4 separate regions of the Homo sapiens genome follow, and regions 2, 3 and 4 are each linked to region 1. The links are contacts of gene promoters, found by promoter capture Hi-C in blood cells and fetal thymus (Javierre and others, 2016). All regions are on one chromosome and are shown on one strand. Each heading gives the region's core, a stretch centred on a gene start or on the middle of the fragment in contact. The rest is flanking DNA. Distances are from core to core; before and after follow the strand shown. Region 1 holds the start of GAB1 (GRB2 associated binding protein 1). Region 2 overlaps SMARCA5 (SNF2 related chromatin remodeling ATPase 5). Region 3 overlaps GAB1 (GRB2 associated binding protein 1). Region 4 overlaps USP38 (ubiquitin specific peptidase 38).

Region 1 (7,333 bases), core at 2,220-4,719:
AATAATTATAGTATCAAGCATCCAAGATATCTTTTCATAGCAAATCCATTCATTACAAATCATTATCCACAAACATTTTGCCTACTGGGTGGCCAACAATGTTTCCTTTATCCAGAAAAATAAACATTCTACATAAAAAAAACAAGCATAGGAAATGCACGTATACATGTCTATATCTTTGATGGTCAAAGCTACTTTAGCAAAAACCATCTAAACTGGACAGCAAAGCCAAAAGATCAATAATCTGGGAATGTCAAAATCTTCTGGGCCACCAACCTGACAGGTAAAATACAAGCCTTATTTAACCTGACAGTTAAATAAGCCTTATTTAACTCATTACACTCCATGCTGGTTTCCTCTATTCTGACAGCCGCCCTGTCTACTGTCTTCCAGGACTATCTCCATCTACTTTATTCGTGGGTAAAGAAAACACCAGTGCTACACCAGGCAAAGAAAATCCTAGTTTCTCCCAAGCTATTAGGCACATTCATCCTCCTGTGGAAAACACAATGTAGGCAGCCCACTGTCTCTCTCAAATGTTCCCATAGTTTCAGTCTACATTGAACTTGTTCCTCAGAACAGCCAAAAAATACCCATACCACTCAACTTAGACACACAGTCATATACCACTTTGCACTGTTGGCTTTTTCACATATACTTGTCTCGTGGTCCCAAAGACTCAAAGAGCTACTTAAAGGCAAAGACTAGGTCTTACATTTCTTTAGCACTGTGCACCTGATCCATAGTCCACCTCATTCTTGTATTCTCAACTAATATTCAGAGTCAGGAAAAGTTATAATCTGAAAGGACCTTTATTTTGTTGTTGCTATTTTTGAGACGGAGTCTCACCCTGTCATCCAGGCTGCAGTGCAATGGCACAAACTCTGCTCACTGCAACCTCCACCTCCCAGGTTCAAGCATTTCTCCTGCCTCAGCCTCCCCAGCAGCTGGGATTACAGGCGTACACCACCACGCCCGGCTATTTTTTGTATTTTTAGTAGAGACAGAGTTTCGCCATGTTGGCCAGGCTGGTCTCCTGACCTCAGGTGATCCACTGGCCTCGGCCTCCCAAAGTGCTGGGATTACAGGTGTGAGCCTGAAGGACCTTTAGAGATAACCTAGTCTAAGCTCCACATTTGAAATGAACTAGGTGAGAGTCGTTAACCTTTTACAGTCCAATCAATCAGGCAGATCTGGGTTCAAATGCAGGACTGTTTTCTGTAAAATAGAGATGACACCTACCTCAGAAAACAGTTGTAATGATCAAATTATACTTTCCTTTTTGTTTTTCTTGTTAAGACATAATCTTTTTGGCTGATTTCTTTCCTGGTTAATAGTTCAATTGAATTCTAAGCCCAAGAGGCAGGGCTTTTTTCCTTTTTCCTACTGTATTTTGTGACCTTATGGTTGGTGTCTAATACAGTGCCTGGCGTCTTTTGAGTGAGCCATGAACTAACCATGTGAAAGAATGAATTAAACCTATATTATCACTTTCACGTTCAGCAAATATGTTATTCTTTAATTCCTCCAAGAATCTGTTTTTCCTAAATTGGGCCTTCTCAAAACAAATATATTTATCTCCCTACCCCTTTCTCCCTTCCTTCTCTGTCACATACACACACACACACACACCCCTACCTTTCTCTTTAGAACAGCTGGAAAAAAAAACACTGCCTCGTTCATATTTTTGGAATAAAGTTAGCATTTTTACTAGGATATTCAGGAAAACTGATAGATGGACAGGATTTGGAGGCATTACACATCTCTGGAGAGCTTTCTTATGATTTGTGGCATCGAGTCTTTCAATAAAATTACTTGTCTATAATAAATTCTGGCAGAAAGTAAATCAGAAATTCACTGGTGAGTTGTCAGTGAAGTTAAATACTTCACTCTGTGTACTTCACTCTGTTCTATACAAGCAAACAGTGACTAACAGGATTAACCTGAGCTCTAATACTGGGTGTAGATATTCCTCAACGACAAACGGGTTCCCTTCGTACAGGCATTAAATTTATATTATATTTAAGGGGGCATAAATTTTGCTTTTGCAAACACATTTTACTAGAAAAATATTTGATCCAGATGTCAGCACAAAAGTGTCATTTCTTTCCTTTGCAAGGGAGCAGCAACAAAACAACCAATGGGGAGGAAGAATAAGATCCCAGACCTCTGAAGAGGACACAGGTTTCCACTAAAGCAAGGTTGATACTTTCAAGGAATATTTTTCCTAACAGCTAAAACGGTTTAACACATAGCATCTTGTATCAATTACACAAACACCATTAAAGCCACTCTGGTTCCCTGGGAAAGGACCGCAACTGAAATCCCTTCTGGCTTCAGCTGTCCCCTCCTGCCGAGTTTGACAGCACATCCAAGGCGCCCAAACACCAGCCACTAGGCTCCCCCCCAGCGCCCTCCTCTCGCAGCAAACCGCCAAGGCTCCCGGGCCAAACTCCAAAGTCCCTCAATTCAAAACCGCGAAAATGTGAACCCTGCTAAGCAAACGGCAGGGCGCGTAATAACTTTTCTTTCTTTCCCTTTTGCGCGCGTTCGATATGCTTGTCTCTACTACCAACTCCTCAGCTCCACAGCCCGCTTCCCGCAACCCATCTCGAGGGGCGGAGGAGAGGGAGCGCCCACCAAAGAAAGGGCTAGTGAGCCCTAAAACCTCGGCAGTTTTCCCGGTGCGGGAGCTTTAGCACACATCAGCCCAATAATCAGATGCAGGAATAAAGCAGGAAGAAGGCTCCTCTCTCCATCGCACCCCATCCTTCCTAAGGAAGAAAAAAAGCATGCAGCAGGAGTTTAGCTGGACGTCTAGGTCCTTTTATGGGGCGAACAGGCCCGCAAAGCAGGCTGTCTGGAACCTGGAGGAAGAAAGTTGTCCGGCCAAGTGGATGCCTGGGCGTGAGGGAGTGCAAGGCACCCTGTCCCGAGCCCGCCAGGGGTAGGGGCCAAGGGGAAAGAGACCGGCATTCGTTTAAGAACCAGCCCCGCGCGCGGCCAGCTGCAGCCGCCGGCGAGCCGACTGGGGAGGGGTGTGGACGCCGAGGCCCGCGGAGTGGTGCCCGCAGCTCTACTTACATAACGCTTCAACTTTTTCTCCGGGGGGGACTTGCGGAGCCATCCGGAGCAGACCACTTCACCACCGCTCATGGTGCGCGCGTCTCGGGCTCCGGGCCGGGCAGCTGAGGGGCGGCGGGCGCGCTCCCGACACAGCCGACGCCTGCCGAGCGCGCAGTGGCGAGAACCTAGCTCTCCTGGTCGCGCACCCCGGACGGACTGGGCGGACAGACTCCACGGTGCGCGGGTTCCACGAGTTCGAGTCTCTCCTCTGCAGGCCCACGAACCTGAACAGAACGCGAGCCGGGGCCGCGGGCGCGCCGGCCTCCTTTCAGTGCGCCCGCCTCGCCTCCAGACGTGCCGTCTCGCCAGCTGCCTCAGCAGCGCTCGGACTCAGCGGGACTCTGCCCCGACTCGGTGCCGGAGCTTCTGTCCTTTGCGCTCCGCCCCCTAGGGACAAGACCTCCCCAGAGCGCTTTCCGAAACAGACACAGCGCTGCTCACACACACACACACACACACACACACACACAATGCCCCGCGCGGTGCCCGCTCGCCCGCCCACCCGCCCTCGGTTTCGATGCGCCCGGAGCGATCCTCCTTCCCTCTCCTCGGGGGAGGGTGGGTCACTTCGCGGCGCTCGGTGAACGCCGAGGAAAGGGGAAGCCGCGAGCCGCCTACGGGCAGCGGGCGCGGGGCTGGTCCCGGGTCACAGAGGGAGCCGCAGGGTTGGCAGCGAAGCGCGGGGCGTTTCTGAGCGGCGGGCGCAGGGAGGTCGCAGGTCAAGCCGGAGGGTGGGTCCGCTCTCGCGGCCGCCGAAGAGGGCGGGGAGCAGCAGAGGAACGAGGCGCTTGGCGGCTTGGCTCCTGGGAGGGATCCCGCTGTCCCGTCCCCTCGCGCTCCTCCCCCGCCGCCTCCCCCACCCCGGGGCTCGCGGCAGGTCCTGAGCGGCTCGGCCCCAGATCCCGATCCCTCCCTCCCTCTCCCGGCCGCCGGGCTCCTTCTTCCTCCCTCTCCTCCTCCCCTTCCCACGTTCAGGCCCGGCTCCGGTTTCTGCCCAGACTTTCTCTGAAACTCCGCCGGAGTGCTTCCAGCCAAAACAACAAGGGCCGGGGGAGGAGACGGACGAAGGGAGGGAGCAAGGGAGGGAGGGAGCGCGAGTCCGAGAGGCACCCTGGGATCTGTAGTTCGGGAAGCAGGAGCAGGGTCCTCCGCCGTCCGGCGGCCCCCAATCGGCTCCTCGCCCGGGAAGACCGCAGAGGCCTCGGCTAGGGCAGAGGCACCGGGGCTTGGGCGCGGGGAAGACTGAGGGACATTCGAATGTTCAGTCCGGGGCTTGCCATCTTGACTCAGCCCGGTGCCAGCTCGGAGCTTGTGCTGTGCTCGAGATCAGGAGTTTCGAGGGTTTTCTTTACTTGAGAGCCTGAAAGGCAAAACCGCGGGGAGACCACCATCCTGCCGGTCCCCGCCGCGCGAGATTAAAGGACAGACCAAGAGGGCGCGGGAGCTACCAGCTTGGAGGGGAGGACAGATGGGGACCCAGGGCTGGCCAGGGCTGGTCTCTGGAGCTGTTCTGCCAGAGTGATGGGGGCGCTTGGCGAGGCCAAGGATTTGGTTGGGTCCTATCTCTGAGACATTTTGAAGTCTCACACCCCTTCCATTTGTTGCCTATTCCACTTAACTTTGTATTTGTTTGAAATCTACTGTTCGGATGCTGGACTAGAAGAGGGACACTTGGCCGGGCGCGGTGGCTCACGCCTGTAATCCCAGCACTTTGGGAGGCCGAGGCGGGCGGATCAACTGAGGTCGGGAGTTCAAGACCAGCCTGACCAACATGGAGAAACCCAATCTCTACTAAAAATACAAAAATTAGCCGGGCGTAGTGGCGCGCGCCTATAATCCCAGCTACTCGGGAGGCTGAGACAGGAAAATAGCTTGAACCCGGGAGGCGGAGATTGCGGTGAGCCGAGATCGCGACACTGCGCTCCAGCCTGGGCAACAAGAGCAAAACTCCGTCAAAAAAAAAAAAAAAAAAAAAGAGAGAGAGAGAGAAAGAAGGAAGGAAGGAAATTTACTGGGTACCCTAGTTCTATTTGCCTACTTCCTTGTGTGTTTCACAATTATTATACTGGTCCTGAGTTTAACATGATTCTGTAATAAACATCTTCTCCAATTTATTTGTGAAAAAGCCCCAAAGCCAATTTCAGCAGATAATATAATCAGATAAAAGTGCTAAAAATATGACGACATAAATGAGCATTTCTGGAAAGACATAACTTCAGTCATTTTCTTATTAACACAACATTCATATTCTGAAGCTCCTCTGAGTTTGAAAATGTTAGATGATTGTAATAAGAAATTAGGTGCTGGAGTGGTGACAAGACAAAGATCCCTGCATATATGGAGGTAGTGGCATAGGGTAGTAAGCAAATAAAGAGTCAACAAAACTACAGATTGAGACTCAGTCTCAAAAAAGAAAAATCTGAAAAAGCCTGGTTCCCACTGGGGTTTAGAGACCGTCATCTTTTGGCAGGCACTTAACAGTATCACAAGGGCGGAACTTCTTGCAGATCTGGATGCACTTTTCAGGTCATCAACTGAGTAGTCGTGACCTTGGGTAAATTACACAATGTCTCTGAGTCTCAGTTTCCCGATATGTGAAATGGGAATTGCAACACCGATTTTGCAGAAGTTTAATGAGAAATAGAAATGGTAGTGTTGGCCAGGTGCGGTGGCTCACGCCTGTAATCCTAGCACTTTGGGAGGCCTAGGTGGGTGGATTGCCTGAGCTCAGGAGTTTGAGACCAGACTGGGCAACTCAGTGAAAACCCGTCTCTACTAAAATACAAAAAATTAGCCGTGGCGGCGTGCGCCTGTAGTCCCAGCTACTCGGGAGGCTGAGGCAGGAGAATCGCTTGACCCGGGAGGCGGAGGTTGCAGCGAGCCGAGATCGCGCTACTGCACTTCAGCTTGGGCGACAAAGCGAGATTGTGTCTCTAAAAAAAAAAAAAGAAAAGAAAAGAAAAGAAAAGAAAAGAAAAGAAAAGAAAAGAAAAGAAATGGTAGTGTTGGTCGGTTAGTCGGGCGCGATGGCTCGCGCTTGTATTCCCAGCACTGTGGGAGGTCTAGGTGAGCAGGTCACTTGAGGCCAGGAGTTTGAGACCACCCTGGCCAACGTGGTGAAACCCAGTCTCTACTAAAAACACAAAAATTAGCCGGGTGTGGTGGCACGCGCCTGTAGTCCCAGCTACTCGGGAGGCTGAGGCAGGAGAATCGCTTGAACCCAGGAGGTGGAGGTTGCAGTGAGCCGAGATCGTGCCACTGCACTTCAACTTGGGAGACAGAGCGAGACTGTCTCTGAAAAATAAATAAATAAATAAAAAGGAAAATGGTAGTGTTGGTTGGGCGTGATGGCTTGCACTTGTAATCCCAGCACTTTGGGAGGTCTAGATGAGCAGGTCACCTGAGGCCAGGAGGTCGCGACCATCCTGGCCAACGTGGTGAAAACCCAGTCTCTTCTAAAAACACAAAAATTAGCTGGGTGTGGTGGCGCGTGCCTGTAGTCCCAGCTACTCAGGAGGCTGAGGCACAAGAATCACTTGGACCCGGGACAGGGAGGTTTCAGAGAGCTGACATAGGGCCACTGCACTCCAGCCTGGGTGACTGAGTGAGAGTCTGTCTCGAAAAAAAGGAAAAAAGAAATGGTAGTTTTAAATATCAGGCACATATTAGATATTGTAGGATTTTTGCTGTTTGTTGCTGTATTTCTTAATGTTCTTTCTGAAACATAAACAAGCGTAATTTTTATGGCAGCTAATAAACCAAAGCACTTCTTTTTAAGTATGTGAATATAAATCATGCCACAAATCTTCCAAATGAAAATAAACCATCAAATTTGTTTTCCTCTTCTCCCATAGGCAGCATGTAGCTACATTGAGCCAAAAGTATAATTAGCATTAGTAAGACTAGTATTGTTGAGTAGTTAACTATTGGCTTTAGCAAATTTACCATTTCCTACACTCTTGTTATAAAGTTCTTTGTAAATGGAAAATTGTAATATATCTTGTATTATTTAGCTTTGGGAATTTCCACAAATTTTTTTCTTTATTTCAAATAAGGCATTCAGTTATCTCATTCCTATGTAAAAAATCTTTAAGTGTTTTTCCTATCTTCTACTGAGTTGTTTTAGGCTTGTATTTCTAGAAATTAAATCAGGGTTGAAGAGAAATTGAAGATAGATATGTCTCCATGTATATATTTTAGAAAGGAA
Region 2 (7,333 bases), core at 4,834-7,333, 190 kb before region 1:
AATAATATGAATACAACGTGACTTAAACATACGTATAAATACATGGGGGAGGGAGGTATGTCTGTGAGGCAGGACTGTGAAGCTACAGCCATAAGCTAAGGCCAGATTATAAAAAGCCTTGAACATATACTAAGGATGTAGACATTGTTATGAAAGAATGAGTAATTTGTCTAAGCATCAAAGTTTTAGAGCCTTGGATCCTTTGAACAAAGTAAGTAGCCTAGGCAATCTATGCTTAAACAACAAGGCAGACCTTTCCATCTCAATTCTGATATAAAGTTCACTCAAATGTTTAACTAAAAAAGATTTGTCTTTCCTTAGCATTGACTCATCTTAGTTCTGTTTTAGAGCCATCCAAGGTAAGCCTAATATCTGCTACCCTTTCAGAAGTTTTTGAGGACATTTAGGACCAACCACCTTCTACAGATAACCTCTTACCCAGATAACATGCCCAGTTCTCTATATGATATTAAGTCCTTTAACCAAACAACTCTGGCCTCTTGCAAATACTTATCAAAATTTAAGTATGCAGTTAAATATACATGAAATATGATGAGACCAGTAAAGAAAAGGGTAGCTATATTTATTTCCTCTCCTTTGAACACTACATTTACATTAAGGCCAACAGTATCTTTTTCTGCAGCTACTTTACACTGACCCAGTATTTATGAACTATAAGTGAACCATATATCTCCCACACTGTGCTATCACAGTTTCCTTTTTAAAAATCCCAAGTAGATGGTTTCATATGAACCCCGTTTAATTAAATCCCAATTTTAATTTTGGATTCATAAGCCTTCCATCCTGATTCTGTCATCTAACAGGTTCAAAACTTTCTATAACGAACTTAATGAGCAAGTCCTATACTACGTGACAAGAAAACTCTTTTCAGGTTGAGTTCAATCCAGCAAATTGGAATTCCATGAAGACACAAATTAGGAAAACAAAATACACATGAAATTTAGGGAAGAATCAATAGTGCTATCAAGTACATCTGAGAATACATACCATTCCCTTTGCATTTTGCTGAGGCCCACATAGATTTTTACTTCCTTCTTTGGAGGCAAACTCTTTTCAACATCAGCCTTAATTCGACGAAGGAGGAATGGACGCAAAACCTTAAAAAGGACAAAAATAAACAGGTAATACCAATATTACACATAAGGTCATATTTCAGCATCTTAGAATTGTATATAAAATACATGAAAAAGAAATTTCTCTGCGTGAGTATCAAGTGATTTCTTAGGACTTCTCCCTGCAAATACAGTCATATCTCAGTATCTGTGGGAGACTAGTTCCTGTCCCCTTCCCTTTGAATACCAAAATCCACAAATGCTCGAGTCCATTATAAAAAATGTAGTATTTGCATATAACCTACAAACATCCTCCCATATACTTTAAATCATCTCTAGATTACTTATAATAATAGTTAATGGAATGTAAATGCTATGTTAATAGTTGTTACACTATACCGTTTAGGGAATAATGACAAGGAAAAGGTCGGTATATTTAACACAGATGGAACCATCTATTTTATTTTTATCTTTTTTGGGGACAAATATTTCCAATCCATAGTTGATTGAATCTATGGATGTGGAACCTATGGATATGAAGGGCTAACTGTATATAATTTATTACTACTGGGTTCCTGAAGGGTAGTAATACAAGACCATTACTTATTCAATAAAGGCATACCTCAGAGATATTGTAGGCTCAGTTCCAGACTACCTCAATAAAGCAAGTCACATTTCCCAGTGCATCTAAGAGTTACATTTACACTATTAAGTGTGCAATAGCATTATGTCTAAAAAAAAAACAACGTACACACCTTATTTTAAAAGTACATTATTGCTTTAAAAATGTGATACATTATTTAAAGCAATACATTACTGCTTTAAAAACAGAGTAAACACATGCCGTTGGGAAAACGGTGTTTATTGATAGACTTCCTTGACACAGGGTTGCCACAAACCATCTATTTGTTTCGCAAAATAAATGTTTCTTAAAAATGCAGTATCTGTGAAGCACTGCAAAGGGTAATGAGATGTGCCTGTATATGTTTGAGTATATACTTGTTATACTACCATAAAATACTAAAAACAATAGTAAATTTTTAAAATGTTTTCAACAATTTGCTGCCTTTCAGGTCTAAAACTAGTTACTTGCATGCAGACTGTCTAACAGTGCCTAAGAATGGGCAAGGGTCGGGAGGCCGAGGCAGGCAGATCACAAGGTCAGGAAATCGAGACCATCCTGGCTAACATGGTGAAACCCCGTCTCTATTAAAAATACAAAAAATTAGCCAGGCGAGGTGGCAGGTACCTGTAGTCCCAGCTACTTGGGAGGCTGAGACAGGAGAATGGTGTGAACCCGGGAGGCGGAGCTTGCAGTGAGCCAAGATGGCGCCACTGCACTCCATCCTGGGCGACAGAGCTAGACTCCATCTCAAAAAAAAAAAAAAAAAAAAAAAAAAAGAATGGACAAGGGTCTCATTAAGATCTCCTTATGGTTAGTCTTTAAACTTAATGTACTAACTTAGGGAAAGAATATAAAAGTACACACTTCAATAAATCATGAGTGTACAGTTCTAGAAATTTTATTCAAGTACTGTAAAAGTACCCATGTTATTACCCAAATAGAACACTCTAGAAATCATTTTTGTGTCCCTTCCAATCACTATCCCCTCTTTTCCTTCCCAAGGGTAAGCAATATTCTTATTTTTAGACACCATAAATTAATTTTGCCTATCATTTTTAACTTTATATACATGGACTCACTCAATATGCACCCATTTATATCTGGTTTCTTTTATTAAACAATGAGACATTTCCATGTTATATGTAGTAGTAGTTCACTCATTTTCATAGAACAGTAAGTTTTAAAATTAACTACACAACTAAAGATACCCTTTTTTGTACCTCTGTTCTATTTACACTGGTTTTTAAAAATAGTGACTATATCACAAACCAAATTAGACATTAGTGGGAAAAATACCAGCAACACCTCTCTAACATCACCACGTAGAAAAGCTAGTTCAGCCCTAGTCAACAGGCGGCAGCAACTGCCAGATGTGTAAGTGAAGACCTTTAGCCCCACCGGTTCTCTTCTAGCATTGTCCAGCTAAATAAATGTAACTGGATAACCCCAAGTGTAATCCACAAAGAAACCATCCAGTCAACCCATAAATTCTGGGGTTGTTAATAAAATATAAACTATGAAGTGTTTTGGAGGTGGGGGAAATAAGGGGGTCTTAGTAACCCCTAAAGGGGGGTTAAGGTGTTTTTGGGGGGTGGAGGGAATAAGGGGTTCTTTTGCAGCATTAGATAACTAATACATCAAATAAGAGTTATCTCATTCCTAAGCGCATCCATACCGACTTCTAAACCCTCCTTTCATTATAAGACCACAGGTGCTACTGTAGAAACTTCAAAGTAAAGAGCAGGAGAAAGTAGAGAGGTAGCTACAAGACCTCTTCTCCCTGACTTCATAAGCATTTTCAAAATACCCTGTGAACAAAACAGAGTTACCAAATCTGGTTGATACTGCTGAATGGGTTGTTCATTTGCTTTACCTAGATGTACCTACGTATTTACTAAAGGAAAGCCAAGAGCAGAGGAATAAGGGGAAAAAAATGCATGAAAAAAAATCATGTTCTTCTGCCTCCTTTTCTACCCCCAAGATTACATATACACTCCACAATCCTTGGTCTAAGTAAATACAAAGAGAGTGCTTAGATGCATGAATGCCATCTGAATTGAAACAAAGGTAGCTAGGAAATTACTACCTTCAAATATTTAACAAAACTCTCAATATTTAAGAATTTTAAAGTACTTTATAATGAAATATTTGAACAATCATGAACTTAAATTTTTTTCCCTGTTCAAATATCCACTCTAACTAGGCATTGTGCCAGGTATACAAAGACAAATAAATCTGTGCTTCCTGCCTTTGTGCTTACAATCCAGTATGGAAAACACTTGTGAATCATCTCAATATCCTCTGCAAAGTCCTATAATATTAGGATGCTCAGATTGTTAAAGATGGAATACACAGAAGGGCACCTAGGCCAGCCTCAGCCTGGCTGGTTCAGTGGAGGTGATGTCGCTGAGTCTTGGACTAGGTATTAGTAAAGAGACCAGGAAAAAGGATTCTAGGTGTAGCAAAAATGATAAGCAAAAATAGATTAGAATTACCACAATGTTTACAGAAAACTGACAGTGGGGTCAGCAATCTATCAAATTAAAGCTCAATATATGAAGAAGTAAAACAGATGCCAAAGAATGTTAAAAAGGTTAGGTCATGGAGGGGCACAATTTTGTTCCCCAGGGGACATCTGCAATGTCTAGAGAAATTTTTGGTTGTCACAACTGGAGGAATGTTACTACTGCCATCTAGTGAGTAAAAGTATCAGGGATGCTATTAAACATGCTACAATACACAGGACAATCACGTTCTCCCCTCTCTCCTTACCCCTCTCAGATATACCCAGACCAAAATGTCAAAAGAGGCTGAGAATTCCTGAGTTAGGTCATTAAGGGCTTTATATAACATTCTTACAAGCTCCTGCTTTAACCTGCTTAGCAGGGTATTTTAATCTGGTGTCTGTTAGAGAAGTTTCTCTACCTACCAACTTTTACTTGTGAACCGTCACAGGAAGCTGTATGTAGAAACAAAGCTATACAGCAAGCAAAAACATACCAACTGTGCTCATAATGCAATATTAGCAGTTGTTTATACACAATGTAGCTAGATTTAAGAAAAAACAGATGGATCTTTAGCCCTTTCAAAAGTGAACCTGTTAGATTCTTCCATGGAATGTAAATTGAACTAAGCTTTAAAAACTTGTCTATTAAGGCCGGGCGTGGTGGCTCATGCCTGTAATCCCAACACTCTGGGAGGCCAAGGCAGGCAGGTTGATAACTTGAGTTCAGAAGTTCGAGATTAGCCTGGGCAACATGGTGAAACACTATCTCTACAAAAAATACAAAAATTAGCTGGGCATGGTGGCCAGAGCCTGTAGCCCCAGCTACTCTAGACGCTGAATGGGGAGAGACTGCTTGAGCCTGGGAGGCAGAGGTTTCAGTGAGCCAAGATCATGCCACTGCACTCCAGCCTGGACGACAAAGTGAGACTGTCTCAAAAACAACAACAAAAACTTGTCTATATTAATTATTATGCAATTCTTCTTCCCCCCACTGTATTTTGTATAACTGTAAGAGAATACTTTCTCCCTTAAGTCAGGATTCCATTCTAGGTTCTAACACTGAAACAACCACACATCACCCCCTACACTGATTGTAAGATGTAAGAGTTAAGTGTCAGAATTCAAGCAGATCTGATTCTTAAGCCATTGTGTTTTTTATTAACAGGAAAATAATCTACTAATTTAAACCTTTATCCTTTTTCCCATCATAAATATGCTTTAACACTACTCCAAAATACTTACCATATGAAGCCTCTCAACTAGTTTTTGATCCCCAAGGCAGTTGTTTGTATCAAACCAGGAATCAAAGTCCTAGATAAACAAACAAAAAATATACTCAGATCAGAGATAATATTAACAAATACCCTATAATACCAGATATAGAAATGATTTCTAGAATTAGTAATTTGAATTGTAACCCACAAAAAAAAATCACTTAGTCCAATCCTGGTTTTCATGTGTCATTGTTACTAATTTTAAAACAAGTAGTTCAGAAATCACACTACCTTCTAAACATTCTTCTCAAAAACATCAAAATAACAAGTTTCACAGTAAAAAGTTGGAGAGCAAGTTCTATAGGATTAGAAAATTAATATTCTTGTAAAGTATCTTTCAAGTTTCATAAAAGCTTGAAAATTAAAACATTTTATAGTTTGTTCTCTGAGACCATTCGCACTACTCAAATACAAGTTTACGAACAATGTCAATTTTAATCAAACTTACTAAATGAAATTGAAATTACCAGCATTTCATTAATATTTGGTTACGATTTCAACAAGGGCAGTTTCCCTAACCTCATCTCTTGAACATATGTATTATATATGTGCTTTGTTTTTGAGTAAACATAATCTTAGAATTCACTGCTTTAAAGTAAATGAAAGTGTCAATGTAGTGAGAAACAGGAATTATCTCAAAAACATCAAAATACATAAAATCGAAGCTAAAATTGCTTTTGGAGTCTGATTAAATATCTTTTTACAACACAATCTATTCTTTCAAAACAATCTTCAACAGAAAAAAAACAAAATTAATTAATACCTTTTTATAACTTAATTGTACAAAAATATACTAACATGGAGCTCTTCAAATCCCTCCAATACACATAAGACGCCAGCTATGCAAACAAAGCTTCAAAAATAAACACTGGTCCAGGCAAAAAAAACTGCAATTTCTAATAGCACAAACTCTTGACATAGTTATTATATTACTATTAACAGTTCAAATAGCTAATTAACCATTACTATCCTTTCTATGACTATAAATAATCCATAAAGATTAGGTTCTATTTGTTTGTTAGACTATAATATAAGAAAAGCCAGACAGATTTCACTAAATTTGACAGTCATCCTTGGGACTTAAAACATAAGCAATGTGAGGTATACAAATCACTTCAGGAATACCTTGAGCAGCACCTTAAAAACATAACCAGTCAACCTAGAGCCACTGAAACAAAGTCAGGCCAACCTGACTTACCAAATAGGAGTGACAATTTATGCCATTTCAGATAGAGAAAACAATGATTTAAAGAAGACTGAGGCCTGGTGTGGTGGCTCGTGCCTGTAATCCCAGCACTTTGGGAGGCTGAGGCAGGCAGATCGCTTGAGGCCAGGAGCTTGAGACCAGCCTGGACAACATGGCAAAACCTCATCTCTACAAAAAACACAGAAACTAGCCGGGCATGGTGGCACACACCTGTGATCTCAGCTATTCGGAAGGCTGAGGCACAAGAATCACCTGAATTCCGGAGGTGGAGGCTGCAGTGAGCCAAGATCACACCACTGCACTTCAGCATAGGTGACAGAGTGAGACTACGTCTCAAAAAAAATAAAATAATAATAATAATAATGAAATAAGATTGAAACCAAAGGCACAAAAGTAAATTCCCATTATACAGAGACAACCTAGGAGATAACACCAGGCTAACTATGTAAATAAAAGCATAAAAAATTAATAATAACCTCAAGCCATGCTAAAAGGCAGGCCACTTTTATTACAAAAATATATAGCATTAAGCAAAATATTATTATTAACCAGAAAGCACCAGGAAATACTTACATCTGCTGAATTAAACACATCTGGCAACAGAAAGTTAAGAAGTGACCACAGCTCATGCAAGTTGTTCTGAAGAGG
Region 3 (7,333 bases), core at 2,723-5,222, 140 kb before region 1:
TCTCCTGCCCCTTTTTGAGTTACTGCATTTTTCTTACTGATCTATAGGAGTTCTAAATATAATCAGTTTATGAATCATTTGTTAATTTTCCCACTGTGTGTTTTGCTTTTGGTTATTGTAACAGTATCTATTGATGAGTAGATGTTCTTAACTTTGATATAATCCAATTTGTCAATCTTTTATTTTTTGGTTAATTCCTTTCTGGTCCTCTTTAAGAAACCTTCTTTTTTTTTTGAATCATGATAAAATTATCCTGTATAAGCTTTGTTATTGTTTTGCCTTTCACAATTATATCTACAGTTCACTAGGAATTGATACTTGCTTATAATATGAGTCACAGGTCAATTTTCTTCTTTTATTTATATGGATATCCATGTGGTCCACATTGTTTTCCACTGCTCTGCAGCTACTGTGTCATAAATCAGTGTCCATATATACGTGGTTCTGTTTCTGTGTTCTCTTTTGAGTTCCTTTGGCATACTTTTTCATCCTGGTACCAATGTTACTTGCTACATCTTTATAATAAGTTGTAAATCTTATAGAGTACTTCTTCCACATTGTTATTTTTCAAGAATATTTTGGCTATTCTTGGTCTTTTGCACTTCCATAGACACTTAAGAATCAGCTTCTCAGGTTCATTTAAAACAAAAACAAAAACAAAACAAAAACCTGGGATTTTGAATGACATTGCATTGAACTTAAAGATCAACTTTGGGGAAAACTGATATCTTCACAGCATTGAATTACCCCACCCATGCACATCATATACTCTTTTTTATTCCTCTATTTTGACTTTATTCTTAATATTTTATAGCAGAGGTTTTGCACATACTATTTTAAATGTGTTTCTGATCAATTCTTTTGATGCTATCAAAATTTCATATTCAAATTGTTACATACAAAAATTGATTTTTGTATGTTAACCTTATTTCTAACAACCTTTTACCTGTAGATTTATTTCAGCTTTCTACATACACAATCATATTATCTGTGGATAACAGCTGTTTTATTTATTTTCTCAAATTCTTGTAATTTTCCCTGCATATGTCCTTCAGTACAATACTGAATAGAAGTGGTGATAATGGACATATTTGTCTTGTTCCAGGTCTCAAAGAGAAAGTTGTCAATATTTCAGCATTAAGTGTCAGGTTTGCTGATAAATGTTTAAATATTCTTTTTTTCATAAACTTCCCTTTTATTTAATGTTGCTAAGAGTTGTTCTTTAAATCATGAATAGATGTTGAAGTTTAACAATTTTCTGCATCAATTGAGATGATCATGTGATTAATTCCCCTTTATTTTATTGATAAGAACCTTGCATTCTTGATTTACCAGGATTTATTTGTTATTTCTTAAATGTTTGGTAAAACTATTTGTTTCTTAAATGTTTGATAGAACCCATCGAGATGTTATCTAAGCTCAGAGTTTTCTTTGGAAAAAGGTTTTTAATTATAAAACTCATTTTAGCTGATATAGAACTATTCAAATTTCTTTTCAGTTTTAGAAAGTTGTCTTTTCTAGTGATTTGTTCATTTTATATAGTTTTCAAATATATTGGCCTAAGGTTGTCCATAATCTTTCTCGTTATCATTTTAATGTCTGCAGTATCTGTAGTGATATCCTGCTGTTTTAATCCTGTTAGTTATATGCAAAAACAGGATTATACCCAGGTTACATAGTCTTAATTTTTACACCAATGGTCTTAAAGAACCATTCATGACATCAAATATTCTTTTATTGCAAGAGCTAACATTTTTTTCAAGTAGTAAAACCTATTTTTCAAATAAAACCTTATACTTTTCTTCCAATGTACAAACAAAAATGTGAAGGTACCGTAATTAAAACAAGGATGAAGTGAGACTGGATCTCTCAAATACTTGATCTACCTTTCCTTTTTGAGGTCTCCCCTGTTGGAAGGACATGGTTTTAAAAATTATTATTCTATATTATAAATTGCTATATACATGTGTATGTACAACTTAATTTCCTCTCCATTGTTGGATAAGCCCCTAATTCGTTGGAGACAATTTTTTGTGATGAATTCGTTAATGCTAATTGCTTGAAATGTAATTGCTAGGTTAAAGGCTAACTACAGTTTCAAGACTTTAAAATCGTATGTATAAACTGCTCTTTGAAAAAGTTGAGGCTGGGCGTGGTGGCTCACGCCTGTAATCCCAGCACTTTGGGAGGCTGAGATGGGTGGATCACCTGAGGTCAGGAGTTTGAGACCAGCCTGGCCAACACGGTGAAACCCCATCTCTACTAAAAATACAAAATTAGCCAGGTGTGTTGGTGCATGCCTGTAATCTCAGCTACTTGGGAGGCTAAGGCAGGAGAATGGCTTGAACTTGGGAGGTGGAGGTTGCAGTGAGCCAAGATCATACCACTGCACTCCAGCCTGGGAAACAAGAGTGAAGCTCCGTCTCAAAAAAAAATTAAAAAGTTGTACCAATTTATGCTCCTAGTGGTATAGATGATAGTGTCCTATCACTCACATCTGTATCAATATTGGGTATTATCATTGAGTATTTCAAAATATTTGAAGGAAAATTACGCAGTCTTTAAAAATAATTCAGATGCTTAACACCTAGGAAAACATTTATGATAATAGTTAATGCAAAAAGTAGAGTCCAGCTGCACATTTAGGCAAAGGTAGGGAAGTAACATGGCTTGTGGGCATTTTTCTTCTTACTCTCCCAAATTGTCTTTAATTACAGTTTTACAATGCGAAAGTAGAAAAAAAATTCAGAAAGCAACAAGCTTGGCCCCTGTGTCAGCTCAAGAGAATTAAGCCACGCTAGTAATTTTTAAACGACAGATAATTTAATGCAGATTAAAATCACACCACTCACTGGTAGGTGTGAAGGCTCTTTAGGAAGGATTCTCAGAACAACGCTACGGAGCTGCCAGACATGGGAACAATCGGGAATCTGGGTTCAGGAAACCACTGCACCAATGGTTGAAACCGTAATACCTTCAGAGTACAGTAATCTACCATGGCAAGTATTGGCTCCAAGCATACACCACTGCAAGAATTGCTTAGCAGGAATCCATTGCTTCACATCCTAAATGCAAACTGCGAGATTTAATATTGATGCCTCACAGACTTCTGTCTCTCCACTGAACTGTTTCTGAGATTAAGCAAGTATCACTGGTGAAAAGTTAATTACAAGCAGCGCCCTAGTTGCAAGGAAGTCTGGGAAATGTAGTTTTTATCTTTACAGCTTCTTAAATACAGGAGGGTACTCCAGAGAGAGGTTGGATCAGCTGTTCAGCAAGCCAATCTTCTACAGATGCTTCATGTCCATGAGGATGATCAATAAAAGATTAACTGACTTACTGGTCTGACATGATGACAGATAATGAAGATTGTTAAGGATTTTCTCTGTTTGCTGTACCTGATTTTCTCTGTTTGCTGTACCTCCACCCTTCTCTGCCTTCCCAAGTGCCCTGGGAGACTGACTTCTATGTATTACATATTCTGGGTTCCCAGCCTTTCTGGGGGCTGGTTGGTTTTAGCCAATGGCAAGCTGTGAGAGAGGTACCCTGGTTTCTTCACTGCTGGTCAGCATTTGATAGTGTGTGTGTCCCTTTACCTAAGATTAAAGTGTCTGTTGGCAGACTGTCTCCACCAGCTACAGCTCTTGCTGGGTGTAACAGCTTCCTCCACTTGCCTCCTTAGTTCTAGAAGTGGTAATGGCTTCTCACTGCTGCTAGTCACTTACCGTTGCTCAGGATTTTACTTTTTAAGAAATGGGGTCATTTTGCTCTGTCACCGAGGCTAAAGTGCAGTGGTGTGATCATAGCTCACTGCAGCTTTCAACTCCTGGACTCACACAATCCTTCTGCCTCAGCCTCCTGAGTAGCTGGGACTATAGGTATGCACCACCACATGCAGATTACTCAGGGTTTTTAACCATTCCTTGTTGGCTCCCTTAACCCTACCCATACAATAGTCCCTTCATTCAACTCTCCTCAATTACTTCTTTGAGTGTGCCATCTTTTCCTGCTGGGAAAAGTTAACATAGCCAGGCAGATGAGACATAAACATAGCCACAAGCTCAGAATGTGTCAGGTTTTTGGAGATAGGGTTGTTAAAGAAGTAATTAAGGTAAAATTATTCATTTTACCTAATCTAGTATGACTGATGTCTTTATAATGAGAGAGCAGAACCAGGGGTGCCAACACAGAAAAAAAGACCATCTGAGGACGCAGTGAGAAGATGGCTATCTACCAGTGAAGAGACCTCAGAAGAAATCAAACCAACGCAGCCTTGATGCTTGACTTCTAGCCAACTGACCAGTGATAAATTTGTAGTATGAGGACTACATATGTATTACATTGAACAGCAACTGTTCAATAGTTTTATAAGAACATACATTGAAACTCACAGACCTAGGTTTAGAACTGCCTCCTGACTTCTTGTGGCCTACTCTTTCCATGCTTTGGGTTATTGTTCTGACATTTTCAAGTCCTTAATTACCAACACACTTGAGTTTCCAAGGTCTTCCATCCTTGGCCTCATCTCTCAACTCTTAATTTTGCCTTTGTGACTGCTAGCATCTTAGATGGCTCCCAGTGATCCTTACTTCCTGGTATTCATACCCTTGCAAGTCTCCTCCCACAGTGAATCAAGGCGTGAACTGTACAACCCATTACTGCACAGCAGAGATGACAGTGTGTGACCTCTAAGGCTAGGTCATTTGTTTGGTCTCTGGGATCACTAGCTTTGGGGGAAGCCAGCCCCCATGCCTCAAAGATACTCAAGCAGCTCTGTGAAGCAGCCACATGAAGAGGAACAAAGGCTCCCAGCAACAGGCAGCACCAACTTGCCAGCCATGTGAGTAAACCACCTGAGGCAGATCCTTCAGCCCTAGATAACTCCAGTCTCAGGTAATTTGACTGTAATTTCAGTAGAGACTCTGGACCAGAACTGTTCGGCCAAGACACTCCTGAATTTCTGACCATGGAAACTGTGAGAATAGATGACTTTTTAAAGTCACTACATTCTGATTACACACCGTAACTAATACAATATTTCATAAGCCTCCACCCAGTACATAGTTCTCCATATTCTGCTTTTGTCTTTTTCTTTACCTCTTCTCATGAAACAAACCAGTAGCAAGCCAACCTTCTTGCAAATCCTCCATTGTCCAGCTCAATCTCCATCTTTGTGAAGCTTTTCTTAAATACAGAACTTTGTTTTTTCTTTGGTAGCTCATAGTTGGTACCTCAGAAATAATAACTTACTGTCCTGTATTATTTTTTCACACATATTTGTAAAGATAAAGATGAGGTAGATTTCTTTCATGTTTCCCATAGCACCTTGAATAATTCAACATGTGTAGCTTAGTGAAATGACTAAATTATTAATAAGCCACCATCAATTAGAATCAAAATCTGGGACAACAGTATTTTCTTCTTAGTCTGACTTTCAAAATTACTGTTTTGTCTAAGGACCGGAATAAGCAACTTTCAAACACATTGTTTTAATAAGGCTGATTAAAAAACAGCTTTAGATGTACATGGGTAATATGTTTTAGAAATTTAAAGCAGGGAAAACTAAATAAATGTGTAGGGTCATAGCATGTGACAAGGGTGAAGAGGTGAAGACTACAACCCAGTGTTACAAATGAAATTCTGTCCTTAATAGTATTCTGTACCCTTTGTGACAAGAATCCAATAATCTGTGTTCTTCTTAGAATACTATTTTCCATCATTGGAGATGTTGATTTAATGGTTCCTAGAAGATAAAAAGCTATGGCCAGAAGTGGAAACATGGTTCACTGTCAGTAAATGGCTTCAGAAGAAACTTTTGGAGCAGACTGCTAACACATTGCAAATTAAACTTCAAAATCATTGCTTGGTATGAGAGGCACTCAGATTAATGACTCAGTATGTTTATCAGTCATGGTTCTCCAGAAAAACAGAACCAATAAGATACACATATCTGTAAGATAGCTATATATTCTTATATACCAACACTTACATGTTTTATATGTGTTTTGAAGATATATATATACACACACACACGGGGGAGATGGAGAGAGACAGAGAGAATTAGTTTTAAGAAAGGCTCCAGGATTGTAAGAACTGGCAAGTCTGAAGTTGGTAGGGTAGGCCAGCAAACTGGATCAGGTAAGAGGTGATGATGCACTCTTTAGTTCAAAATCTACAAGAAGGCAGGCCAGCAGGATGGAAACTTAGGATTAATTTGTTATGATCTTGAGGCTGAATTACTTCTTTTGGAAACCTTGGCTTTTGCTCTTAAGGCCTTTAGCTGATTGAATGAGGTTCAACAACATTATGGATGAGAATCTGCTTTACTTAAAATCAACTGATTGTAAATGTTAATCACATCTACAAAATATATTCACAGCAACATCTAGGCTAGTGTTTGACCAAACACATGGGCGCCATAGCCTCACCAAGTTGACACATAATATTAACCATCACAATACCATATCTGATAAAGTGGGTTTTGGGTATTATTTTAATTTTTAAATTTCCTATATCACTGTATGTCCCTCGCACAGAGCACTCCAAATGTTCCAAGCACCTCATGGAACACAAAATCAGAGGAGACGCATTAAGTGTTAATCACCAATAACCATAAGTAATAGTAATAAAATCTTTTCTAATGAAGTATAGAAACATCTTAGAAACTTAATTTTCTGTAGGTGTTCCTTTATTTTATCAAAAATAGTAATTTTGTATAATTTTAAATCAGGAAATCTAAGGGGACATGTTACCCAATCACAACAGCTAATAAAATGCCTCCCATTACAGACCCAGCTTTTTAAATATTCAATAACATTCACAGAATTGGCAAGTTAGTCTCCAAAAAATTCTAACAGAAACTGCAACTCAAAAAGTGTGTCTATATCAGAGATGGTGGTAACTTCCTCAAAGAAGTTACATGCAAATACCCAGGAGTCTCATGGTTTACAAGGTGACAGACAGACATATGAGAAAATAATCTTGAAGAAGATAGCCTCACCCTACCCAAACTTCCCAAATATGATTCAGTGAAGAGTCAGAGTTGCAAGTGGGCTGGGTGGGCTGAGTGGACCAAAGTGCTGACTTACAGCAATTGTTGGGATTTTATAAAGTACTGGAGATGTTTGAAACTTTCATAGAAATGAAAAATCCCAGCCAGTTAATAAACAGAATCATTTCCCAAGTCACATTTTACATATAAAACCTAGTTTCTGAAGATAAAGGTTGCATGCAGGCCCTTATTTATTTGGACTTTTACACAATAAAATGCTGGCAGCACTGGCTGGCTGGAGGAGTAACAGGGCACGTGCATGTGGCAACAGAGTTTTTCCAG
Region 4 (7,333 bases), core at 2,125-4,624, 140 kb after region 1:
AAAAAAAAAGTGCTTTTTAGAACCATTTCCATATAAAATTGAAACACAGTATAACTCCACAAATAATTCAAGTAAAGATTCGAAACATTGATGAACAGTCCACAGCAAAAATAGAATTAAAAAAGAGGCCAGGTGCAGTGGCTCACGCCTGTAATCCCAGGACTTTGGAAGGCCAAGGCAGGCAGATTACTTGAGGTCAGGAGTTTCAGACCAGCCTGGCCAACATGGTAAAACCCTGTCTCTACTAAAAATACAAATTAGCCGGGCATGGTGGCAGGTGCCTGTAGTCCCAGCTATTCAGGAGGCTGAGGCGGAAGAATCGCTTGAATCCAGGAGGTGAAGGTTGCAGTGAGCAGAAATGGTACCACTGCACTCCAGCCTAGGTGACAGAGCGAGACTTGGTCTCAAGAAGAAAAAAAAAAAAAAGATTAAAAAGGGGAAGAAATCAAAGTCAAATATTTTATTAAACTCCATTTCCTGTATTCTAAGATGTACTCTACATATACTTTAACACTTCTAATATTGGGGTGCAAATCTGATGTATGCATTAACTTAACGTAGCATTTCTTTTTAAACAAATTTCCCAAAAAGCTATTATAAATTTAAAGATATGCCTTATAATTGATGACACTGCAGAAATAAAGAAATATGGTTATTAATTTAGAATGGTGACTCCAGCAAGAAAGCTGTTACTCCCTAAATGAAACCTGATTCTAACTGCATTTTTCAAATAAAAAGCATATTACCATAAAATAGTAAATTGAGTAGCTGGTTATAAGAATGTTTCACCTTATTAATATAACACAACTCCACAAATATTGGTACAACTATCATCATACCTTTATTGCCTCCAGAATAGGTTCATAGAGATCTGGAAATCCAGAATAATGATACATCATACAGTGTATCAATTCTGTTAATTGTACTAAGAAGGCTGTACTTGAAGGCAGACCATCATTTTTGAAAGAATGAACCAAATTAACCACATGAGGAACAATCTGAAAAGAAAAAAGGATAAACAATGCTGAATTTATACAAATTGGTAACACATTCTCTAGCCTACAAACAGAACACAAACGATATATGATCAGCAGATACTTTTCTGTATGTGCAGTCACAGAGTTTTTCTTGTTATTAAGTTAAACATTTCTAAAATATCAAGGTAAATCTAGTTTTCGAAGTCGCATATGACTGTAATCTCATATATGACCCCTCTCCTCATCCTTACACACCATCTAAAACATAAACTAAGGTATAAAATAGGAATCTTAGTCATTGCCACCATTCTGAAAAATGCTGTAGGTTGAAATTGTTAGGGTTATTATATTTACCAGGTCATTCAATGGGAATAAACTTTTGAAAAATAATCCTGGAATTAGCTAAAGAGCTCCATCTAGTGTGAATCTAAAATTTTTTACTTGAAAGAATTAAAAGTACATTGCACATTAAAGTCTACTTCAAGAAAATCTTTACATGAGTAACTAAAATTGCAGCTCAGGTAATGGGATTACTTTTAGATAAGCACAGAGACCATGCCTTATGTTAGAGTGGCTATTCTTACTAACAAATCCCATTTCACAGCAAAAGATGAGATGGTTCTAAAAATAAAGGGCATCAGAAACTTCTGTTAGTTTTAAAGACCTGGGGCTAAAAATAAAAGTGAAATCTAAAATGATCATTGCTCATAAACATATAGAATATTGTTAATATTGATCATCAGCACAACCATGTTCTTTCATTGTAAAATTAAACTAAAAAGTCATCAATCCAGAGCCAATCATATCTTTAGGAGGTTATTAAAATGAAACAACTTCTATTTTACAGACATAGCTCTTTCCATTAGTATGATACTATATTTTTTTCAATTAATTTTTAATTATAATCTGATACTACATATTTACACTTCTTATGGTAAAAGGTATCTTCTGTTCTATTTGTAGAACATTTTGGGGTTGCTAACTCATGGTAAAAAAGTTATAACTATTAGGGTCGTACCATCAAACAGCAATAACAGCAATTATAGTAATAACCCACTAATTCCCCGTCCTTCCCACAAAAAGAACAATCATAGTCTTACAACACAGTGCTATTTCCATTCTGCTCTGTCTAGCTTTACATTTGTGCTTAAATCACACTGTAGCTTTTGCATTACCTTCTTACCTCCATCACAGGTACTAATGTGACCATAAAACTACCAGTTCCTAGTGAGTTCATTCTATTGCTATCATCTTTACATTTCTAAGCAAATATGAATTATACTTCTGTCGCATAAAGCCACATTTATCAGATATTCTCTTGCTAAAAGTCAGAAATCCAAAATTATTTTGTTTTCTCAAAGGTGAAGGGAGACAGAAGAGGCAAAAATTTTAGAAGTAATTATTAAATTTATAATTCCAAATCTGTCAAATTAGATTAGGTCTTTGTAATCAGGTTATATGGTTGTCTATTACTATATCTCAAATGGTCAACATTATCACGACATGGAAATAAGACTTAGTCTTTCACAGTTATACAGATATACTTCCAAGCAGGCTATTACTTTCTAAATGTGTGAAAGTTGATTTTTTTGAATAAGTGAAACTAAATGTTTCTTGACATTATTATAATACTAAAGTTTTTGAGGAAATGTATAAAACTTATTTAATTAGAAGCTTTGATTTTTTTTCTTTCTCCATTATTCCTATCTGCCATAGTGTCTGTTTAAAATAAATTTATTCCACTGGGTAAAATGCATAAGAAAAGCAACCTGACCCATAACACCACATATTCTAACATCAACCTTGGCTTGCCCTAAGATATTCTAAACTTATGATGAATTATGATGATGCTGATTCCAGATTATTGCTCATACTTAGCAACTCCTAAGCCCAAGTCCTTTACTGAGTTATTTGGAGTTATAGGTGATTTAACTACCACATTACCCACTACTAGATTAAGGAATGTCCTCAATATGGGCAATAAACATTAGAATGAATGATAAAGTTATGTCAGAGAATCTCCTTCCTAGAAATTTGGAAAACATCTTGAGTTGATTTTTGTATATGGTGTAAGGAAGGGGTCCAGCTTCAATCTTCTTCATATGGCTAGCCAGTTGTCAAAGCACCATTTATTGAAGAGGGAGCCTTTTCCCCATTGCTTGTTTTGACAGCTTTGTCAAGATCAGATGGTCATAGGTGTGCAGCTTCGTCTGTGGGCTGTCTATTCTGTTCCATTAGTCTATGTGCCTGTTTTTGTACCAGTACCACGCTGTTTTAATATACTACTGTAGCCCTGTAGTATAATTTGAAGCTGGGTAATGTGATGGCTCCAGCTTTGTTCTTTTTGCTTAGGATTGCTGTGGCTATTCAGGTTCTTCTTTGGTTCCACACAAATTTTAAAATAGTGTTTTTTTAGTTCTGTGAAGAATGTCATTGGTAGTTTGATTGAAGTAGCACTGCATCTGTAAATTGCTTTGGGCAGTACGGCCATTTTAATGATATTGATTCTTCCTATCCATAAGCATGGGATGTTTTTCCATTTGTTTGTGTCTTCTTGATTTCTTTGAGCACTGTTTTGTATTTCTCATTGTAGAGATCTTTCACCTCCCTGGTTAGCTGTATTCCTAGGTATTTTATTCTTTTTGTGGCAATTGTGAATGGGATCGCCTTCCTGATTTGGCTCCTAGCTTGACTGCTGTTGGTGTATAGGAATGCTAGTGATTTTTTTACATTAACTTCTTATCCTGAGACTTTGCTGAAGTTGTTTATCAGCTGAAGGAGCTTTTGCGCTGAGACTATGGGGTTTTCTAGATACAGAAACATATAATCTACAAATAGTTTCACTTCTTCTCTTCCTATATGGATGTCACCTATTGCCTTCTCTTGCCTGACTGCTCTGGCTAGGACTTCCAGTACTATATTGATTAGGAGTGGTGAGAGAGGACATCCTTGTCTTGTGCTGGTTTTCAAGGGGAATGCTTCTAGCTTTTGCCCATTGAGTATAATGTTGGTTGTGGGTTTGTCACAGATGCCTCTTATTATTTTCAGACATGTTCCTCTAATACCTAGTTTATTGAGAGTATTTAACATGAAGGGATGTTGAATTTATTGAAAGCTTTTTCTGCATCCATTGATATAACCATGTAGTTTATGTCTTTATTTCTGTTTATGTGATTTATTTGTGTATGCTAAACTAACCTTGCATCCCACAGATGAAGCCTACTTGATCATGATGGATTAGCTTTTTGAAGTGCTGCTGGATTTGCTTTGCAAGTTGAGGATTTTTGTATCGATGTTCATTACATCAAGGATAAGACTTAAATGTAAAACCCCAAACTTTAAAAACCCTGGAAGACAACCTAGGCAATACCATCCTGGACACAAAGATTTCATGACAAAGACACCAAAAGCAATTGCTACAAAAGCAAAAATTGACAAACGGGATCTAATTAAACTTAAGAGCTTCTGCACAGCAAAAGAAACTATCAACAGAGTAAACAGACAACCTACGGAATGGGAGAAAATACTTATAAACTATGCATCTGACAAAGGTCTAATATCCAGCCTCTATAAGGAACTTAAACAAATTTACAAGAGAAAACCCTATTAAAAAGCAGGCAAAGGACATGAACAGACGCTTTTCAAAAGAAGACATATATGCAGCCAACAAGCTTAAGAAAAAAAGCTCAGTATTACTGATCAGCAGAGAAATGCAAATCAAAACCACAATGAACTACCATCTCATACCAGTCAGAATGGCTATCATTAAAAAGTCAAAAAAGAAGACATGCTGGTGAGGTTCAAAAAAAGGGGAACACTTATACACTTGGTGGGAGTATAAATTCGTTCAACCATTGTGGAAAGCAGTATGGTGATTCTTCAAAGAGCTAACAGCAGCACTGGCATTTGACCCAGCAATCCTATTATGGGGTATACACCAAGAGGAATATAAATCATTCTACCATAAAGATACATGCACATGAATGTTCACTGTAGCATTATTCACAATAGCAAAGAAATGGAATCAATCTAAATGCCCATCAGTGACAGATTGGATAAAGAAAATGTGGTACATATACACCATGGAATACTATGCAGCCATAATAATAAGATCATGTCTTCTGCGGGAACACGGATGGAGGGCGAGGCTATTATTATCCTTAGCAAACTAACCCAGCAACAGAAAACCAAATACCCCATGTTTTCACTTATAAGCGGGAGCTAAATGGTGAGAACTCATGAACACAAAAAAGGGGACAATAGACACTGAGGTCTACTTGAGCGGGGAGAGTGGGAGGAGGTAGAGGAGCAGAAAAGATAACTATTGGGTACTGGGTTTAATAACTGGGTAATGCAATAATCTGTAAACCAAACCCATGTGACATGAGTTTACCTATGTAACAAACTTTCATGTTTCCCTGAATCTAACAAGTTAAAAAAAAAATGTGGAAAACAAAGCCTTTTCTCAAATGTCTTACACATGATTGTGCCTGAAGACAAGGACAAGTAATTGATGTTTTTTTTCTTGGAAGACTTTGCTAGTACACCTGCTATCTTAGAGTTTGAGTTCTGTTTGTATTATACATATATATAAGGTTACTGCTTGATGATTAAATTCACCAAAATTAGGGCAATTAACTGCAGAAATCACTCATCCTAAGTGGTAATGTGTAATGTAATTACTTGCTAGTAAGGTTTACTTACTACAAAGCCTGTGGACTTTCCTTCAGTGGAAATGAGACACTGAGCAACCTATGTGAATATATTCTAGATAAATAAAAACAAATGGAATTCTGAACTTCATTAGTCTCCTCTAAAGTTTGTTATGGTGAATCAGTATTCCTAAGATTTTTCCACTGTGGGTTTATTGACAATGAGTTTCTAGTCCTATAAAACAGGATTAGTCTTTGGAAGAATTAAGTAACCACACAAAGGCACTGTTTTCCTATGATGCCCTAGAGTGGTAAATGGACAGCTGACCAAAATTACAATTTGTCATTTCTCATCTGCAGTAACTGATAATCAAATAATTGAAATCAAATAAACGCCAATGATTCAGCTGGCTTAACGTGGTAGGATTCTAGATGTATTTTAAAGGTGGGGTCAACAGGATTTGTAGGATGTAGGCTGAGAGTGAATGAAAAGCCTGCAAAGACTGGTGTGTTTTCATGCTTTCAAAATTCTAAAGCAGTGGTTTTCAATCATTTTAATCCTTCTATACTGTTCATTTGTGCAACAGACATCCATCAGTGACATCTCCCATGTGAACAGTAACTCTCAACTGCTGGTAGTTGTTGCAAGTGGAGTAGTTTGAATGAGACACGAAAATATATTCCTAGGAGGGAAATCTCACAATCTCAATTTTCTAGGAAATCATAAAGCTATATGAAAACAGATTTGGGACTAACTTGCAATATTTTCACTACATAAAAATGTGACTCAATATTAAACTAAATTTTCAAATTGAGGCTTTTTCAAAGTAGAACGTTTATGTCATAACTTACCAAATGGAACGCCTCTGGAGAATGCTGAAAGCTAAGCAGCATGTGAGAAAGAACTGCAAGAGCACCAGGTCTCACAAGAGGAAACCAAAGTCGATTAAAAACCTTCAAAATAAGACAAGACACCTTCTTAAGAATTTGCAGGAAAATCATTAATCCAACAGTGGTTATTTTCCTAGAGCTAGAATTTATTTATATGAATGTCCCCCTTCTGGAAAGTTCTAACATAACTTATATTATTAAACTTTGGGAGAAGGATGAAGTTAGGAAATAACGTGACAGAGATCAAGGGTAATGTAACTGGCCTAACCAACTGTTAAAACTCCCCAATTAAATAAAAATTTGTCAAACTATGTTTACAAGGCAATAGCTCCCTAGTCCACTATTCATTCAGTTCACTCAACAAATATTTGTTAAGCACATACTATTACTTGTCCTAGTTCTAGGAACTAGTGCTACAACAGTGGATTAAAAAAACAAAAAACCATCTCTCTCTTACAGGGTTTACCATCTAGAGGGCAGGTAGAAACAATAAAAAGTAACACATGGTGGTTAGTGTTATTAAGAAATTTAAAGCAGGGTATGATGAATAGGGAATGCTGTGTAGCAAAAAAATCTGCTGTTTTATATAGCGTTCAATAAATGCCTCATGAAAGAAGTGATATCCAACTGTAAAACTGAAGGAATTGAATAAGCCTTGCAAATACCTGGGACAAGAGCATTATAGGCAGGGCAAACGGCATTGCAAAGGCCTTGAGGCCTTCAGGCTGGTGTGCTACAGATGAAGAAAAAAGGGCAGTGTAAGTGAAGCAAGAGACCGAGGCAGTAACAGTGGGAAATGGGACTAGAGAAAAA

The links. Contacts are between HindIII fragments. The CHiCAGO score rates a contact against its expected background, and 5 or more counts as called.
Region 2: a fragment that was not itself captured here is called in contact with the fragment with the promoter of GAB1 in region 1 in 1 of 17 cell types (neutrophils); the score reaches 12.1 in neutrophils.
Region 3: a contact is called between a fragment that was not itself captured here and the fragment with the promoter of GAB1 in region 1, in 8 of 17 cell types (naive B cells, total B cells, M0 macrophages and 5 more). The highest score is 9.3, in naive B cells.
Region 4: a fragment that was not itself captured here is called in contact with the fragment with the promoter of GAB1 in region 1 in 6 of 17 cell types (neutrophils, erythroblasts, megakaryocytes and 3 more); the score reaches 12.6 in neutrophils.

What each region holds. Positions count from the first base shown.
Region 1 is chr4:143,333,012-143,340,344 of GRCh38, reverse strand. It overlaps GAB1 (GRB2 associated binding protein 1), which reads right to left and starts at 3,469. Exons shown (of 10, transcript NM_002039.4): 1 at 3,085-3,469. The coding sequence starts at 3,156. It also overlaps the pseudogene LOC124900789. RefSeq lists enhancers at 2,730-3,543, 4,453-4,662 and silencers at 3,573-3,622, 3,693-3,752, 3,853-4,152, 4,093-4,260. The HindIII fragment of the contact is 8,165 bases long and covers 1-7,333 here.
Region 2 is chr4:143,528,640-143,535,972 of GRCh38, reverse strand. SMARCA5 (SNF2 related chromatin remodeling ATPase 5) reads right to left here. Exons shown (of 24, transcript NM_003601.4): 8 at 7,259-7,333; 9 at 5,447-5,515; 10 at 1,009-1,118. Among named protein-coding and RNA genes, the nearest start is that of SMARCA5-AS1, 17 kb to the right of the region's middle. The HindIII fragment of the contact is 500 bases long and covers 5,834-6,333 here.
Region 3 is chr4:143,473,540-143,480,872 of GRCh38, reverse strand. It overlaps GAB1 (GRB2 associated binding protein 1), which reads right to left. Exons shown (of 10, transcript NM_002039.4): 10 at 6,308-7,333. Among named protein-coding and RNA genes, the nearest start is that of SMARCA5, 36 kb to the left of the region's middle. The HindIII fragment of the contact is 2,419 bases long and covers 2,763-5,181 here.
Region 4 is chr4:143,197,073-143,204,405 of GRCh38, reverse strand. It overlaps USP38 (ubiquitin specific peptidase 38), which reads right to left. Exons shown (of 10, transcript NM_032557.6): 4 at 6,482-6,583; 5 at 840-998. Among named protein-coding and RNA genes, the nearest start is that of USP38, 16 kb to the right of the region's middle. The HindIII fragment of the contact is 1,441 bases long and covers 2,654-4,094 here.